Linked DNA regions of Homo sapiens: all the other regions are linked to region 1. Evidence: promoter capture Hi-C in 16 types of primary human blood cells and fetal thymus (Javierre and others, 2016). All regions are on one chromosome and are shown on one strand. Each heading gives the region's core, a stretch centred on a gene start or on the middle of the fragment in contact. The rest is flanking DNA. Distances are from core to core; before and after follow the strand shown. Region 1 holds the start of TERLR1 (TERT regulating lncRNA 1). Region 2 has its middle 4.7 kb from the start of LPCAT1. Region 3 has its middle 22 kb from the start of MIR4277. Region 4 overlaps LPCAT1 (lysophosphatidylcholine acyltransferase 1). Region 5 has its middle 6.1 kb from the start of SLC6A3. Region 6 has its middle 39 kb from the start of MIR4277.

Region 1 (2,700 bases), core at 60-2,559:
CCACATTCTCTTCCTGATTCTAACTCCACGGGTACAGAGACAGAAGCTGCCATCTTTAGAAATAAAACTTTTTTCTAACTACAAAATAATACAGTTTAATATAGGAAATGTGGAAAATGGGGTATTCGGGGTGGATATTGAGAAGAGAGAAGCAACACCAATTCTATGTGCGAGACGCTGGCACTTCCCAGCGTAGCCTTGTGTTCCTGACCCTGGGGTGGCCTGAGCGTGGCCTGTGGGGCCCGTGTCCAGGTGCGGAGGGGGCCCTGAGTCGTGCGGGGCAAGTGGTCAGGGCCCCAGGCCCAGGCTGCCTGGAGCGAGATGACTGGGCCTGGCCCCTGGGGACTTGCTCTGACAAAACCCCCCGGTCCCCACTCCTGAGCCCCTGCAGGAGCAGCCCTGGGAACATGGGGAGCAGCTCCTTCTGCCTATGTGCTCCGGACTCAGGAACTCTGGAGAGAAGAAACACAACCCCACAGGCCCCGCCTGCCTCTCCTGCAGTCTTGAGGCCCCAGGGAAAGCCCCCACTGCAGGCAGGGGGTGGGTGCCCGAGCGAGGGTGTGGGGTGAGCAGGGTCCTGGGCATGTCAGGGCTGCGTGGGACTCCAGCGGGCCGGGTGCCTCTCGCCCTGCAGGACGTGGCTGGCCTGGTCTGCCCCCAGCTGAGCCTCACCTGAGGGAGAGCTGGGGTGGGCCGCCTCGTTTACGACCGTGTAGTCGTCTTTTGCACACAAAGCCATGTGAGTCCGTACGTGAGTCCTGTGGAAAGACAAGACATGGAATAGGAGTGACGTCCGTCCCCAGGCATGAAGTGGAGAGCATCACGCTGTGTGAGTTAAACACTGGCCAAGCACGGTGTGAGTCGGAGCCGGGGACCTGGCCAGATGAGGGCTGCGTGCAGCTTTCACACCCCAGGCACGTGAGCACCGCCAAGCCCAGCCTCAGCCAGCAGCTGCTCTGCAATGTGGAGTCACCAGTGGCCCCAAGGATGGCAGGTGGGGGTGGCCTTGGGACTGAATTAGGCCGACACCCAAGGCCTCTGTTCCTTCCCGTCCCTTCTCTCCCTTCGGAGGATCAAATGAGAGTTTCTAGGAAAGAAAACATGGCCAGGCCCTCCTCCAGCGCCCAGGCAGGGCTCGAGCGGACGCCCGTGTGACCCCCACATCCCTTCTACCCCTGTAGCTCTCTGACTCTGATATCCCAGTGGGAGGAACGAGGAGGGGACGGGTGAGGAGGAGGAAGAGGAGGAGACATGAGGGTTAGGAGGAGCACATCCTGAGTTTGTGAGGCTTCACTGACCTCTGGCCTCACAAACACACACAGGCCTGAGCTCCGGATATTTCTCCTGTTCTGGAGACAGTGAGAAGTGAAAGAGAAATGGCTGCCCCTGCACCACTTACCGCGAAGGAGGCTCAAGGCTGGGGGGCCCCTCTGCCTTCCAGTGACCGCCCGTGTCACATCCTGACCCGCTCAGCAGGTGAGCTGCAGGCTGCCAATGCACTGGTGCTACTTGCCCCTCGGTGTCTGGGTGGCTTTTGTGTGGCTGCGGCAGCTTGTGGGCCCACATCCCAGGCACGGGTGGTCCTGAAGGTGCTGGGGAAGGGACATGCCCTGGGAGGCAGGATGTCCACACTAAGTGAGTTGCTCGCCTCCACTGGAGGAGAGACGGCCAGAGGCATGGATGCACGCTGACTCGTGGACGGCCGCTGTTTGACGAGACCATCAAGGAGGGAGGAGCACCCGTGGAAAGGCGTGGCAGGGTGGTCGGGGCAGAGGTGTACATCAGCCTATCCAATGCTCACGGCTGGAGGACGCCGCGCCCTGTGAATGCTCACTGAGGACCATCCCGGGCACTGGGGCTCTCCATGTGAGAATGGACAATATGCTGCCTTCCCAGCTGCCCCATCCTTCCTGCGAGAGCTTGGGGATGGGTGGCCACAGTGGCACTGGGGAGAACACGAGGGCTCCCCAGCAAGCGTTTTCTCTCATGGAGGTGGCTCTGGTCACAGCGTCACTGCAGGGCGCAGCCACGGTGGCGGCCAATGGAAACTGGGCTCTTCTTTTTCTTTTTTTTTTTGAGACAGAGTCTCGCTCTGTCACCCAGGCTGGAGTACAATGGCAGGATCTCGGCTCACTGCAACATCCACCTCCCGGGTTCAAGTGATTCTCCTGCCTCAGCCTCCTGAGTAGCTGGGATTACAGGTGCCAGCCACCACGCCCGGCTAATTTTTGTATTTTTAGTAGAGACAGGGTTTCACCATGTTGGTCAGGCTGTCTCGAACTCCTGACCTCGTGATCTGCCCGCCTTGGCCTTCTCAAAGTGCTGGGATTACAGACATGAGCCACCGCGCCCGGCCAAAACTGGGCTTTTCTACGGTGGGGAGAGCAGAGCTATTCTCTCTGGGGTGGGTGCTTGTCTGGGACTTGTCACCATCCCTTACTCCAGGGCTGTCTTCAGCACTGTCGCCCACAGTCTTTCCGAACGCCTTATTCAGATGTTATAATTTCCCACACGATGTTCCTGACCAAGAAACGCATTTTACAGCAAAGGGGTGAGGAACGGATCTGTGGCCATAGGATCCCAGAGCCGTGTCCCCGCCACTCAGGAGCAGGCGACCTGAGCAGAAGGGCTTGGCGCTGGTGGGCAGTGGGAGCCCTGCCATGGGCGGCCCGAGGGGTGGTGGGATCCCCGCCGTGGGCA
Region 2 (2,700 bases), core at 138-2,637, 350 kb before region 1:
AAAAAAGTCACTAGAACTAATAAATGAATTTAGCAAGGTTAATGCCTACAAAGTAAATACATAAAATCAGTTGTAGTTCTATATACGAGCAACACACTTCTGGAAATTGAAATTAAGAAGCAGTATCATTTATAACAGCATCAAAACATGAAATAGGAACAGAATTCGAAAACCTATGTAAGACCTATGCAGTGAAAATTATAAAACATTGCTGAGGGAAATTAAAGAAAACCTAAATAAATGATCTGTATACCATGCTCATGGATGGATAACTCAATATTGCTAAGATGGCAATTTTCCCAAATTGATCAATAGATTCAACACAATCTCATTAAAAATCCCACCAACCTTTTGTTTGTTTGTTCCTGGATACTTCAGTTTCTTGACAAAATGATTCTAAAATTTTGGCTGGGCATGGTGGCTCACACCTGTCATCCCAGCACTTTGGGAGGCCAAGGCGGGCAGATTACCTGAGGTCAGGAGTTCGAGACCAGCCTGGCCAACATGGTGAAACCCCGTCTCTACTAAAAAATATAAAAATTAGCTGGGCGTGCTGGTGCATGCCTGTAGTCCCAGCTACTCCGAAGGCTGAGACAGGAGAATCGCTTGAACTCAGGAGGCGGAGTCTGCAGTGAGCCGAGATCGGGCCACTGCACTCCAGTGCAGTGCAGTCTAATTTCAAGACTAATATAAAGCTTTAGTAATCAGTATAGTGTGATGTTGGCAGTTGCAGATGTACAGATCCATGGAACAAAATACAGAGTCCAGGAATAGACTCAACTATACATATATGGCCACTTAATTTTTTTACAAAGTTGTCAAGGTAGTTCAATGGAGAAAGAATATTCTCTTCAACAAATGGTGCCGAAACAGTTGAATATTCAGACGAAAACATTTGAAACTAAAAAACCTCTGCCTCCACTTTACTTTATGCCGTGTACAAATGTCAACTTGAAATGGAATACAGACCTAAATGGTAAAGCCAAAACTGTAAAACTTCTGAAGTAAGAAAATCTGAATGACCTTGATGCAGGTAAATATTTATAAAAGAGGATACCAAAACCATGATCCCTAAAAGAAAACGCTGATAAATTGGACTTCATCAAAATTTAAAATATCTGCTCTTTGAAAGACACTATCACTGCTTAACAAACCATCTCAGTCTGTAGTGACTGAAAACCACCACAATTTTCTGTTTGTCATGATTGTGGGTTGAATAGGAAGTCCATCCATTGTACATGATGGAGTCCCTCACTCTGGGGCTGTGCACTCCTCATCTGGAACATCCACAGGTCCTCTTGTACCCTGGGGTCTGTCTTCATACAACCTCTACACAAGCAGTAGTGGTTCTCCATATAATCCATACTGTCAAGAGTAATTTTTTTTTTTGAAAGAGAGTCTCGCTCTGTTCTTGCCCAGGCTGGAGTACAGTGGCGTGATCTTGGCTCACTGCAACCTCTGTCTCCCAGGTTCAAGCAATCCTCCTGCCTCAGCCTCCCGGGTAGCTGGGACTACAGGCGTGTGCCACCACACCTGGCTAATTGTCATATTTTTAGTAGAGATGGGGTTTTGCCATGTTGGCCAGGCTGGTCTCGAACTCCTGACCTCAGATGATCCGCCCACCTCGGCGTCCCAAAGTGCTGAGATTACAGGCATGAGCCACCGCGCCCGGCCCAAGAGTAATTTTTGAAACGATTATTACATCACTGCAGAAGTATGAAGCATCAAGGAATTAACAAAAATACAGAATCTTTATGTAGAAAAATTTAAAATGCTATCAAAGGGCATGAAAGAACATCTAAATAAATGGTAGAATAACCATGTTGGTGAAAAATCGTTCTCAAAATTATAAAGTGTCCATGCCACATCATCCATTTAAAAAATTTTTTTTTTGTATTTTCTAGTGCTTTGAAGCCTTGGAGCCTTGGAGCCTTGCTGGCCCTTCGAGGGCCCCTCCCAGGACCAGCCAGCTCTTACTGAAGTAACATTCTTAGGGAACAGGGAGAATGAACAGTAAGAATGAAGTAACATTCTTACTGAAGTACCCTGTACAATTAATGTGATTCAAAAGGAAGCTTCCAGCGGGAATTTTTAGCAATGGGGACAACTGCTTCCAAAATTTGGATGGAAAAATAAAATTCCCTGAATTCCTACTACAATTCTTGGGAAGAAGCGCCAACAGGAAGGAACCCCCTCTACAGTTACTAAGGCAGACGGTTGAAAGGTGTGAGACAGGAGTAAAGGAGTACGCGGACCGGCGGGTGAGACGGGAGTAAAGGAGTACACGGACCAATGGGTGAGATGGGGCAGCCAGAAGGAGCTTCAGGAACCCTTCTTTCTGTTCATGCTGGAAGTGGACCCACAAGTGGGAGTCTGTGATTGATACGTGGTGTTGAGAATATCAGGTCTCCATGCAGAGAAAAAAATCTTCAAATAGAATAAAATGCAACCATGAAAGGCAGAACTGAAAAAAGATGTTAGTAGAAAATGAAGGAGAATATCTTTTTCTATCCTATAGATAACTCTAAAATTCAAAAATTAAACAAACAAAACAAAAATACTCAGCCTTACCAGAACAAGCAGGTACCTTGTGTTCTCAATGCACTTGGAGTATAGGAAACACTTCTCTGTGAGCTTACACTCTTAAAACAGAGACAAAACCAGAGCAAGAAGCCTCAGGGGTGTGGTTACCAGCCCCAG
Region 3 (2,700 bases), core at 126-2,625, 510 kb before region 1:
AGAGTGTGGTGTGAGGGCCTGCATGGGGCATGAGTGAGGCGTGGTGGGCATGGAGGACTGAGACCCTCAAGGCTGCCCTTGCTTTAGGCCTCAGAAAAACCACTGGAGTGGGTGAGCTCCAGAAGCTACGGCCTTTTTAACCCCACATCACCACTGCCTTTGGCTCTGCAGTGGCCACTGGCCGTGCGCTGCCCATGGGGCAGAGCCCCAGCCTCACACTGGATCCCCAGCCCGGGTGCAGGCTTGCCCTGCAGAGCCAAGGTTGCCTCTCAGCATTTTTCCAAGAGAAGCTTCCCGGGCATCAAGGCCAGAAGGCAGACCACGTTGCAGAAAACGCAGCCCAAGACGTCTTCCCTGAGCCCCAGAGGGGTGTGCATTGTTCAGGCTGCCCCACATGCAAAGACCCCACATGCAAAGACATAGGCTTAGGCATGAGGGTGGAATAAGCCATGCTGGAGGGTGCAGGGGAGAGCTCCTCATGCTTCAATATAACGTTGTGATGTAGGGGCTGAGAAACGTGGGCCCAAAACAGCACTGTCTGGAGACCCTGAAGAGACGCAAGTTCCCAGGCCCACTCCCAGAATGGCCCAGGAACCAGAGCCACTGGAAGCTTCCTGGGCCATGCCTGTTGGACTGCTGTGTGTGGTCACGCTCCTCTTCTGTTAGAAACATCACCTGTCCCATGCGGCTGGAGTGATGGGGCAGGAGAGGCAGGCAGTGGATTATTTATAAGATGGTACTTCACACCAAGGCTGTGCAGGAGCCTGCACCACACGGCATGGGGTCCCTGGAGAGGAGCGCAGCCTGGAAATGACAAGTGCGTCCAGCTGCAGCAGGCGCAGCTCTCAGGTGGGCTTCCCTCCTCCAGGGTTGACCAGGGAGAGTACTTGGATCCCAGGGAGAGAGAAAGCGGGCAGAACGTGGGTCCCCCTCAAGAGTGGTGTGCAAGGGCCAAGGCGAGACCTGAGCATCAGGGAGGGTGTGGACTCGCCCCACCTTGGCTGGGGCACAACTGGCTGAACTGAACCTCACAGGTGCCCCCACTCTTCCTGCCCCTCGAGATCCACCAGCACTGGGGCACCCCCGACCCTGCCCAGGGAGAGCAGCTCTGGGTGCCCCTTTTCCAGCAGAGCATCTTTCAATCAGCCATGCGTGGGGCTCACACTCCCTGTCACCAGGCAGCTCACCTGGCAGGACAGCCTCGCCCGGCCTCTCACGCTCTTTGAGGTCATGTGCCCTGTGGCCATGCTCCAAGGCCCCCCTGTGGCTTGGGGATACCATGTGATTCTCTCTTCCTCCAGGAGGCCGAGCCTGCTGTCACTTGCTGGTTCCCGGAGAGTAGGGAGCCAGCAGCCCAAGGACATTCCACAGCCTCGGGGGCTGCCCTACGGCCTGGTTGCTCTCAGCCCACACTGCTGTTCAGCCTCCAGACATCCCCAGTGGGAGGGGTCAGAGGCACCTGCTGGCCAGGTGAGCTTCCCAGATCAGCAGCGCCCTGTCCCCAGCTCCTCCAGGTCCATGCATTCCTTGCTCCTACCTCAACGCAGGAGACAGCGGAAGGGGCCCGGCCAGCTGTGCAGGCCAGTCACAGGGCAGCTCCAGGAGTTGGGTGTACTCTGGGATGTTGCTAAGAGTGACACCATGGAGACAAGTATGCCTTCTCACAGAACACCCCTTATGTCACCGTCAGAGTCAGAAACCCGGGCTGTGTGGACACAGGGATGACTCCGCTGCGATATTCTTGCATAAAGGTCATCTGGTATGTATCTCAACAGCTACAACTTTTTCTGATGGAGAAAATAATTAAATTATTTATTTCTGGTTATGCACTGATGCTTATACATATACCCTCACCACACACGCACCTGGGCTCACACACACGCATCTGGTTACGCACTGAGGCTTATACATATACCCTCAGCACACGCGCACATGCACTCACACACATGCACACACAACCACTCACATGTGCACTCAGAGGCCGGAAAGTCTGTGTCTTTTCTACAATTTTCTATTTATTGCAGCCATCTTTCTTCCCATTTGTCATCTCTTAATCTTACTCACTGGTATGCAGTGCTTAAGGAAATAGAATGTTTAGGATGTGAAGTGCCTCCGCAGAGCCTGCTTCAACAAAGCTTATCGTAAGAGGCCTGGAAGCATTTAGAGTTAAAAGAGACAGAGCGAATCATGTCTGACAGTTCGCCCTTCCTGTGGAATGCTCAGGGTGTCCCCTAAGAAAAGCCTTGGACAAAATCACCATCCTCGGCTCATCTCCTGCATAAGGTTTCCTTCTGCACTTCAGAGATTCATAAGATCAACTGATACACCTTTGTGCCCAGCCAAGAAAGAAACCAACCCAAAACACTACAGCAAAATATTAGCACAGAACGGGTGGTTCACGGCACTGAAGTACACATTTTGTGGATCTCAGTGTGAAGCAGGTGCTGCGCGGCAGTGGTGTTGGGAAACTTCTTACCGTATTTGCATCTGTGTTTCAACAGATGGGGCTCACGCCTGAGTGGGTGGATATTACCAGACCACGTGCTCATTGTCCACACAGGATGCTCACGCTGATGCATCTTGCTTTGCGCCTCTGTCTCTGTCAGGCTGAGAGAGACTGTGATAAATGGATCACAGGGAGAGTTGGGCTCTGCTGCAATTTTCCTGGCTGTTCATATAGGCCAAGCTGCTTTCAGGGCA
Region 4 (2,700 bases), core at 1-2,500, 290 kb before region 1:
GCAGTCACGTCAGCACCATTGTTCATTTCTCTAGTTCCTTATAATATCAGTTAATTGATCATTTGCCCAACTGCTATTTTTACGTAAGCTTTTTATGCTAGCTGTTGTTTGTAAAATGCCCAGAAAACTCCCAGATTTATTTCTTCCTGGATTAGCAATCCACACTCATCAGAAAGCATGGCTGAGGTTCTTCCTGGGTCCTGGGGCACCTGGGTGGGGCTGGTGGTGTCACACACCATCACACACTACAGGGCACCTAACACAGGGGCCACACACCTTGTCCTCTCTCCCCCTCAGACTGGACTGGTGAAGAAAGCACGGCTTAGGAGCTGCCCACCTCAGCTAACCCCAGGGGCTACAACATGTCAGAGCCCAGTCATCACCACTGGGGGAGTCTGGGGTCCCAGCCCAGCTGCAGACTCCTGGGAAGCCCTCAGGACTTGCCTCACCACAGGGAGTCGCTGCTCCCTGGGGGCTGAGTGGGGTCTGGGTCAGGCCTGGAGGGCGGGAGGCCAGGTAACCCTGAGGGTTTGGCCTGGCCTATTCTGAGGCTCCAGCAGCACCAATGTGGATTTCATCTGGGATAGAGCTGGGCCGGCTTTGCCTGTACAGAGGCACAACTTTACCAAGGCTTCTCACAGGGTGTGACTCACATTAGCCAGACTCTCAAGGGCCTGATGTGTGAGTCAAGAAGCTGCATGTCTCTCACCGCTCCAAGAACTCCCTTCTCTTGCTTCTGATGCCAGCACACCCTCTCCATAGCAACACTGGGGAATGTCCCCACATGAAAAGGTGGCTTGTGGGGGTCTCCCCAGGCAGGATGAACTCGATGACCTCAACATTTGGCAGCTCTGTGTAAGAAAGCCTGACCTCCCTGCCTCCTCCAGGCCTGGGCAGCCTGCCTCCTAGGGCCCCTGATCTGAGCCAGGCCCTGTGGCCCTGCGGCCCCTGCTGGCCCTGCTTTCACTGTGCCCTGTTGTTTTTTTTTTTTTAATTTTTGTGAGATGGAGTCTCGCTCTGTTGTCCAGGCTGGAGTGCAGTGGTGCAATCTTGGCTCACTGCAACCAACCTCTGCCTCCCAGGTTCAAGTGATTCTCGTGCCTCAGCCTCCCAAGTAGCTGGGATTACAGGCTCGTGCCATGAAACCCAGCTAATTTTTGTAATTTTAGAAGAAACAGGGTTTCACCATGTTGGCCAGGCTGGTCTCAAACTCCTGGCCTCAAGTGATCCGCCCACCTCAGCATCCCAAAGTGCTGGGATTACAGGCATGAGCCACCGCCCCCCGTTCTGCTGGCCCCACCAGCCCCTGCTGTAGAGCCACCAAGTATAACCTGGAACGAATGACAGCAGCGGTGGGGGTGGCAGTTGCCTTGTTTCTCAACATGAACAATGGGCTGTGGAGCCCGACCTTCCTCCTGCACAGGCCCCACCTGCAGGTGGGCAGGGTAACTGGCTGTGGTAGGGTTGAGGACGCCCACTGGGGAGGACAGTGTGCACCGGGTCCCTGCTTGGGGTGGGGTATGTGCCACTAGGAGGTCTTTCTCAGGTGAACCAGGCGATGGGTGAGGCCTAGGCTGCCCTACAGTGACCACCTGGGGGCAGGATGGGTGATCACTTCTCACAGGCTTCCAGGCCGCTGATATGGCTGCGTCCCCACGGCGACACCAGGGTCCCGCCTCACCTCCACCCTCAGCAGCTCCGCCCTGACGGCATATGCCCTGCCTTCCTCCCACCTTCTTGCAGGCTGCTTCCCCATGTCCCTTTCTGCAGCCTATACCTTTCATGGTGTCATCATTTCCTGAAGTCATGGCCATTGTGCTTTGCTGCTGCTCTGGGAGCCTGGCACATTTTGGGGGGACTGCATGTAGCAGGAAGGGCTTCCACGGAGCAGTCTCGTGTGAGAGAGCGTGGCAAGTGCACCAGCGTGCTGCTCTTGGGACACAGAGATCCAGGAAGCTGCCCCCCAGGCTGACTGTGGACACAGAACTCCTAGCACCTAGGACCCCAGAGGCACACGCCGGTGCTCAGGACTCCGGATGCGCAGCGCACCGATGTGCTTCATACGCCTTGGGGCCCCTTGTTTTTGTTCTTTTTCGTTATCATTACTGTGTAAAACCTTAAGATGTGGCCCTGGTAAAACTTCCAGCGGCTCAGAGAGTGGACAGTGAGAACCTGAAGTCTGTTGCCTGTGGTAGCCTCAGTCCTACCTCTGCGTTTCCCGTGCAGCATCTACACGAGGCTCCGAGGATGAAAGTCTGCATCTGCAGTTCTCATGTCCAAATGGACACAGATGTCAGGTTGTCCCCTCTGAAGCAGCCTTGCAACCACTAGGGGGCAGGAGGCACTGCTCTCTGGGGGCTGAGTGGGATCCAGGTCGGCCGAGGAGCTGGAGGCCGTGGCCCTGAAGCTTTGACCCGGCCCGTTCTGAGGCTCCAGCAGCACCAACGTGGATTTCGTCTGCAGATGTTTGATTCAGCAAATCTAAAAGCAGGAGAGAAACGTAGACCACAGAAGACAGGGTGGCCGCGTGCGGCAGCGCTGTGGGATGAGGCCCAGGGGAGGGAGAGTGGAGGGTGAGGATGGGGTCTCCAGAGCCTGGAGCAGACCCGGTCCATGGGGTAGAGGCAGAGCCCCGGGAAGAGGGTGTGAACGCGGGGACAGCTTGCCAGGCCGGAAGGCTGGAGGCGTCAGCGTTTCTTC
Region 5 (2,700 bases), core at 103-2,602, 270 kb before region 1:
ACAACATATCAAACCTTTTGGAATTTGGCTAAATCAGAACTTAGAAGAAAATCTAGACATGAAGCCTGCCTCAGAAAGGAATAATGATGAAAAATTGATGGCAGCCTCCACCCGAAGAAATCCCATGCGGGACTTTGGAAGAAATTGAAAAGTTGATTCCAAAATTCATATGAAAAAGCACAGGACCGAGAATATGCAAAACAACTTTGAAAATGAACAAAGTTGTCTGACTTACATTACCTGATTTAAAAATGTATTACAAAAGGACCATAATGAAGATAGTGCCATTTTAATCTCCTCAGGCTGCCACAACAAAATACACCAGATTTGGGGGCTTAACAGCAGACATTTGTTTCTCACAGTTCTGGAGACTGGAAATCCAACATCAAGGCAGCTGATTCAGTTCCTGGTGAGGCCTCTCTTCCTGGCTTGCAGATGGCCGCCTTCTTACTCTATCTTCACATGGCAGAAAGTAAAATGGAGAGAGCTTCCTCTTCTTATAAGGCCACAGTCCTCCTGGGTTATGACCCCACCCTTACAATTTAATTTAACCTAATCACCTCCTAAAGTCCCTATCTCCAGATAAAGTCACCTTGCGGGGGTTATGGCTTTAACCTATGAATTTGGGGGTAAACAATTCAGTCCACAGCAAGTGTGGTATTAGCATCAAAATGGATTAACAGATCATAAAACAGGGAGCCCAGAAATAAACCCACACACATACATACAACTGACTTTTCAACAAAGGTGCAAAAGCAACTCAGCAGAACACTGAACAACTGGCTCTTCGGAGGTAAAGTGGTGAACTTCAATTGGTGTCTTACACCAAGCTAGTTTAAAAATGCATTCTATGTGTAAATATGCAATCTATAATTTTAAAAAGTTTAGAGGAAAACTTAGGAGAAAATCTTGATGATCATGAATTTGGTAAAGATTTCTTAAATACAACACTAAAAGCAGGATTTGTGAAAGAAAAATGGATAAATTAGACTTCATCAAAATTAATAACTCTTCTCTGAAAGAATCTATTAAGAGAATGAAAAGACAGTCCAAGACTGGGAAAAATATTTGCAAAGTACCCATCTGATAAGGGACTGGTATCCAGAATAGTAAAGAACTCTCAAAGCTCAATTAAACAACCCAAAGGTGCAAAAGATTTGAACAGACACTTAACACGAAGTGGCACTGATGCAGCTAACACATGAGAAATTGTTCAAAGATCACGCTCATTAGAGCAGTATAGGAGATATTACTGTAAACATATTAGGATGTCTAAAATTTAAAAGACTGACCATACTAAGTATTCATTAGAATATGAAGTAACTAAAATTATCATACACTGTTCATGGAAATATAAAATGATACAACTACTTTGCAAAAGAATTTAACAGTTTTTAAAAAAATAGTTAAACATATATCTACCAAATGACCCAGCCATTCCACAACTAAGTACTTCTTACCTACCCCAAAGTAATGAGAGCCTATGTTCAAAGACTTGCACACAAATGTTCATAGTAGCTTTATTTGTAACAGCCAGATGTCCATCAATAGGCAGATGGAAAAGCCAAGTACATCATATCCCATATCCACACAATGGATACTACAAATAACTAAAAGGGAATTAACTGCCGATGCAATGATGTGGATTCTTCTCAAATATGCTGAATGCAAAAGAACAGACCCAGAAAACAGTACTTACTGTATAATTCTATTTATATAAAATTCTATTAAAAACACATTGTTCTGTAATCATAGAAAACAAATCATTCCAGCATTTTGGGAGGCCAAGGCGAGCTTATCACTTGAGGTTGGGAGTTCAAGACCAGCCTGGCCAACATAGTGAAACCCTGTTTCTACTAAAAATACAAAAATTAGCTGGGTGTGGTGGCGGGCATCTGTAATCCCAGCTACTTGGGAGGCTGAGGCAGGAGAATTGCTTGAACTGAGGAGGCAAAGGCTGCAGTGAGCTGAGATCGTGCCACTGCACTCCAGCCTAGGTGACAGAGTGAGACTCCGTCTCACAAAAAGAAAAAAAAAAAGAGCAAATCAGTGGTTGCCTGGGGATGGGAAGAGGTAAAGAGACACAGACAGAGGGAAGTCAGCGAGGGAGGAGCACCGCCATCATCTTCTGTGTGATCGCGTTGCCATGACCCCATCAGTCACTCACCAAATCGTACACTTGGAATATTGCATATCCATTACACCTCAGCAAGGCTGTTTTTAAAAAGACACAAATGCCGAGATAATTACAGAAAAAAAGTCCAATTAGTTTTGTTAGGATGGTGGAATCATGAAAGGCATCTCCTAGGTCCTCCAATGTTGTTCTTTTTCAAGATTCTTTTGGCTACTCTAGGTCACCCACATCTCCAAACACATTTTAGAACCAGCTGGTTAATTTCTTCAAAAAAGCAAGTTAGAATTTTGATTGAGATTGCATTGAATCTGTATGTCAATTTATGAAGAACTGACATCTCATTAATATTGAGCCTTTCAGTCATAAACATACACACTCCTCTGCTTGTCTAGACTTTCAAAAGTTTCTCACAGCAATGGATTCTAGGTTTTCGGTGCACAAGTCTCGGATACGGTTTATCCCCAAGCATTTTGTTTCGGATGCTATTGTAAGTGAAATTATTTTAGGTTTTATTTTAGAATTGTTTGCTGCCAGTACATAGAAATACAATTGGTTTTCATCAGATC
Region 6 (2,700 bases), core at 171-2,670, 490 kb before region 1:
AGTAAATTTTAGTGACAAGTTTTTTTAGTGGCGATAATACGTACGAGTCCTTTTTAATGCTTTAACATGGGGATTGATGCCACCGTCACAGGGCAGCCACGCCCCTCGCCCGAGACTCTGGGAGTTGCTCTGCAACAGCACTTGGGAGGCCTGGGGTGCCTCCCATGGACACAGCACCATCCGTTTTCAAGCGATCACTTTAAGAGAAGCGCCATGAATGAAATCCATCAGCCACCCTAAGTTTCTCCAGCATATGGCTGGCTCATGAAAACAGAAATGCCCTCCAACTTCAACCTATGAGGCCTTGAGCCTGTTTGGGCAGGAGCTGGTGCTTCTGGTGCTGCGGCCAGATGCTGTGCCTGGTACCTCAAGCATGAAATCAAGAAAACTCTTCCAGCTCAGGTTTATGACATTACTGGTCAATGTCACAGAGGAATACAAAGCTTCTCTATCTTTCCTAACCACGCAGTCCATGCTTGGGCAATTCACTGAACAATGGCGATGAAACACCCTCATCTCTATCTCTGCACGCCAAACACAGAATTCTCTCTTGGCCCCCTTACAGGGCTGATGTATGAGCCAAACCTGGCCCAAGGAGGAGTCCCAAAAGGTTGCAGAAGAGCCGATTATCCACCCCATGATACCCACATTCCCACCCGCCTTCCATCTCTCAGGAATCAGGAATCAGAAGGGGTCTACTTTTCCCAGAAAACCTTTATTGCTTCTACCTGGGTACTTTCACTGGTCCCAGGAAGGGAGAACACATTCAGGTAGGATTAAGTTCTACTGTTTCCAAATTTGGAAAGGAAAGTTCTTTTGTCCTCCAACATTTGGGAAGGAGAAGTGATGCTTAAAAGAGAGCCCCTCAATGGAGTATCTCAAGGCTCTTCAAACAGGTGACTTCGTCTTATGAATAAATTATGGAAACTCCTTCTTCTTCCAGAGTTAGCAATGTTACAATTAATTATGTACCTGATGACAATGGATTTGGAAATATGGAAACGTGTCATGAATGTCTCAATGTGTGATCAAGACTTTTCTGTAAGTAGCTGAGTCACCATCACCAGAACCTCTTCCTCTTGCAAATGAGCCTTCAGCTGCAGACTAGACTCCCAGGATGGTGGGCAGGTCAGCTGATGGGGTGAGTGCATGTGCATGTGGGAGCCACACACGTGTGTGACTAACTGCATTTGGCACTATTTATTGTCTGTGCTTCTTTTCCTTTGTAAGAGCATTAAAAATTGACCACAGTATGTCATCATCCCAACTCTCCTTAAGAAGCTTCACTTTTCTTTCATGCTGCTAGCCTGCTGTAAGCATTTGTCTTGCTTTTAGATATTACCTAAGATAATAGAATTCCAAAGTAGACACCTACATTCTCAGCTTTTGAACTTTCCCTGTGACTTATGTGTCCTGAGCACAAGGCCATCTTTATATTGCGATGAACAGAATCTGGCTGAAGATTTCTATACACTGTCTCCTTCCCACTCCGTGCAGTGCACATCTGTGCTTGGCAAGCCTGCAATGCTCACAGCCCCTGCTTGAGGGTGGAAAGCTTCAAACACCCAGGGAGTCCTGTGCCTGAGCCAGCTTTGCTCGTCCAGGTCCAAGGTAGACAAGTGGGGTTTAGGGGTGAATGGGGGGTGGGCCCTGCTCATCACCTTCCTCAAGCTGAGAGTGCTGATGGACAGGGCCTCCACAGTACTCAGCCCTTACCCTTCACCCTTATCCTCAGCTTTACACAATGGACGTGACAAGGCAAACCCTGGCCTGAGGAAAGGGGGTCCACACTCTGTCCTGTTTCCAGGCCTGGGAACCCCCGGCTCTCTGTGTGCTGTGGAAAGGGCTGGAGGGAGCCGGTGTGCAGCTGCTGGGCTTCTGCAGATGTGCGTCCTCAGAGCTTGGTGCCCCCGGCTTTCTTTGCCGTGCCGTTCTCTGTGGCACAAGTCTTCTTTTTAGCTGAAGCCTCCTTCTGTAGACCCCAGGCCCCTCCCTGTCCTCTCCTCTGAGAGGTATGGCACTTGACTAGGCAGCCAAGAAATCCTGATGCTGGCAGGGTCCACGGGAACAGGCTGGGCAGGACCATGGTCAGGGGTCTGTCTTAGACACAGCCCTTACCAGATAGCTGAGGCCCTACAGAGGCGTAGAGGGCCAGGGAAGTCACTGCCCTACTGCCACATACCCAGGATGCATGGTTCACCATGCCCCCAGCTCTGGCACTCACACAAGCCCACAAGTTCAGGGTCCCAGCTCTCTTGCACAAACCCTGTCCCCACCCTGCTGGCTCATCATGCCTCAGATACACATGAGCCTCAGATTCATGTGGCCAGATCTTAGCCTCCTTCATCACCAGGTCTGCTGGCTGCATGCTGTGAACCCCAAAATTCTGAGACAGGTCTCAATTTAGAAAGTTTATTTTGCCAAGGTTGAGGCTGCGCAGCTGTGACAGCCTCAGGAGGTCCTGCCGACATGTACCCAAGGTGGTCAGAGCACAGCTTGGTTTTATATATTTTAGGGAGATATGGGACATCAATCAGCATGTGTAAGATGAACATTGGTTTGGTCTGGAAACGTGGGACAATTCAAAGCAAAGGCGGGACAACTCGAGGAAGGGCTTCCAGGTCAAAGGTAGGTAAGAGACAGATGGCTGCGTTCTTTTGAGCTTGTGATGAGCCTCTCCAAAGGAGGCAATCAGATCTG

The links. The method cuts DNA at HindIII sites, captures the fragments that hold promoters and counts their contacts. A CHiCAGO score of 5 or more calls a contact.
Region 2: a fragment that was not itself captured here is called in contact with the fragment with the promoter of TERLR1 in region 1 in 1 of 17 cell types (fetal thymus); the score reaches 5.1 in fetal thymus.
Region 3: a fragment that was not itself captured here is called in contact with the fragment with the promoter of TERLR1 in region 1 in 5 of 17 cell types (monocytes, naive B cells, total B cells and 2 more); the score reaches 9.4 in monocytes.
Region 4: a contact is called between a fragment that was not itself captured here and the fragment with the promoter of TERLR1 in region 1, in 7 of 17 cell types (naive CD4 T cells, naive CD8 T cells, total CD8 T cells and 4 more). The highest score is 8.0, in naive CD4 T cells.
Region 5: a fragment that was not itself captured here is called in contact with the fragment with the promoter of TERLR1 in region 1 in 1 of 17 cell types (total CD8 T cells); the score reaches 5.6 in total CD8 T cells.
Region 6: a fragment that was not itself captured here is called in contact with the fragment with the promoter of TERLR1 in region 1 in 12 of 17 cell types (monocytes, total CD8 T cells, M0 macrophages and 9 more); the score reaches 11.5 in monocytes.

What each region holds. Positions count from the first base shown.
Region 1 is chr5:1,177,214-1,179,913 of GRCh38, reverse strand. It overlaps TERLR1 (TERT regulating lncRNA 1), which reads left to right and starts at 1,309. Exons shown (of 5, transcript NR_109911.1): 1 at 1,309-1,476. LOC124900189 reads left to right here. Exons shown (of 8, transcript XM_047417960.1): 2 at 1-540; 3 at 635-1,476; 4 at 1,660-1,866. The coding sequence starts at 108. The coding sequence ends at 1,155. The HindIII fragment of the contact is 15,637 bases long and covers 1-2,700 here.
Region 2 is chr5:1,527,295-1,529,994 of GRCh38, reverse strand. No RefSeq gene overlaps it. Among named protein-coding and RNA genes, the nearest start is that of LPCAT1, 4.7 kb to the right of the region's middle. The HindIII fragment of the contact is 1,380 bases long and covers 698-2,077 here.
Region 3 is chr5:1,685,104-1,687,803 of GRCh38, reverse strand. No RefSeq gene overlaps it. Among named protein-coding and RNA genes, the nearest start is that of MIR4277, 22 kb to the left of the region's middle. The HindIII fragment of the contact is 1,525 bases long and covers 613-2,137 here.
Region 4 is chr5:1,468,082-1,470,781 of GRCh38, reverse strand. The region is part of intron 12 of LPCAT1 (lysophosphatidylcholine acyltransferase 1); the gene reads left to right. Among named protein-coding and RNA genes, the nearest start is that of SLC6A3, 24 kb to the right of the region's middle. The HindIII fragment of the contact is 2,319 bases long and covers 91-2,409 here.
Region 5 is chr5:1,450,196-1,452,895 of GRCh38, reverse strand. No RefSeq gene overlaps it. Among named protein-coding and RNA genes, the nearest start is that of SLC6A3, 6.1 kb to the right of the region's middle. The HindIII fragment of the contact is 3,197 bases long and covers 1-2,700 here.
Region 6 is chr5:1,668,994-1,671,693 of GRCh38, reverse strand. No RefSeq gene overlaps it. Among named protein-coding and RNA genes, the nearest start is that of MIR4277, 39 kb to the left of the region's middle. The HindIII fragment of the contact is 274 bases long and covers 1,284-1,557 here.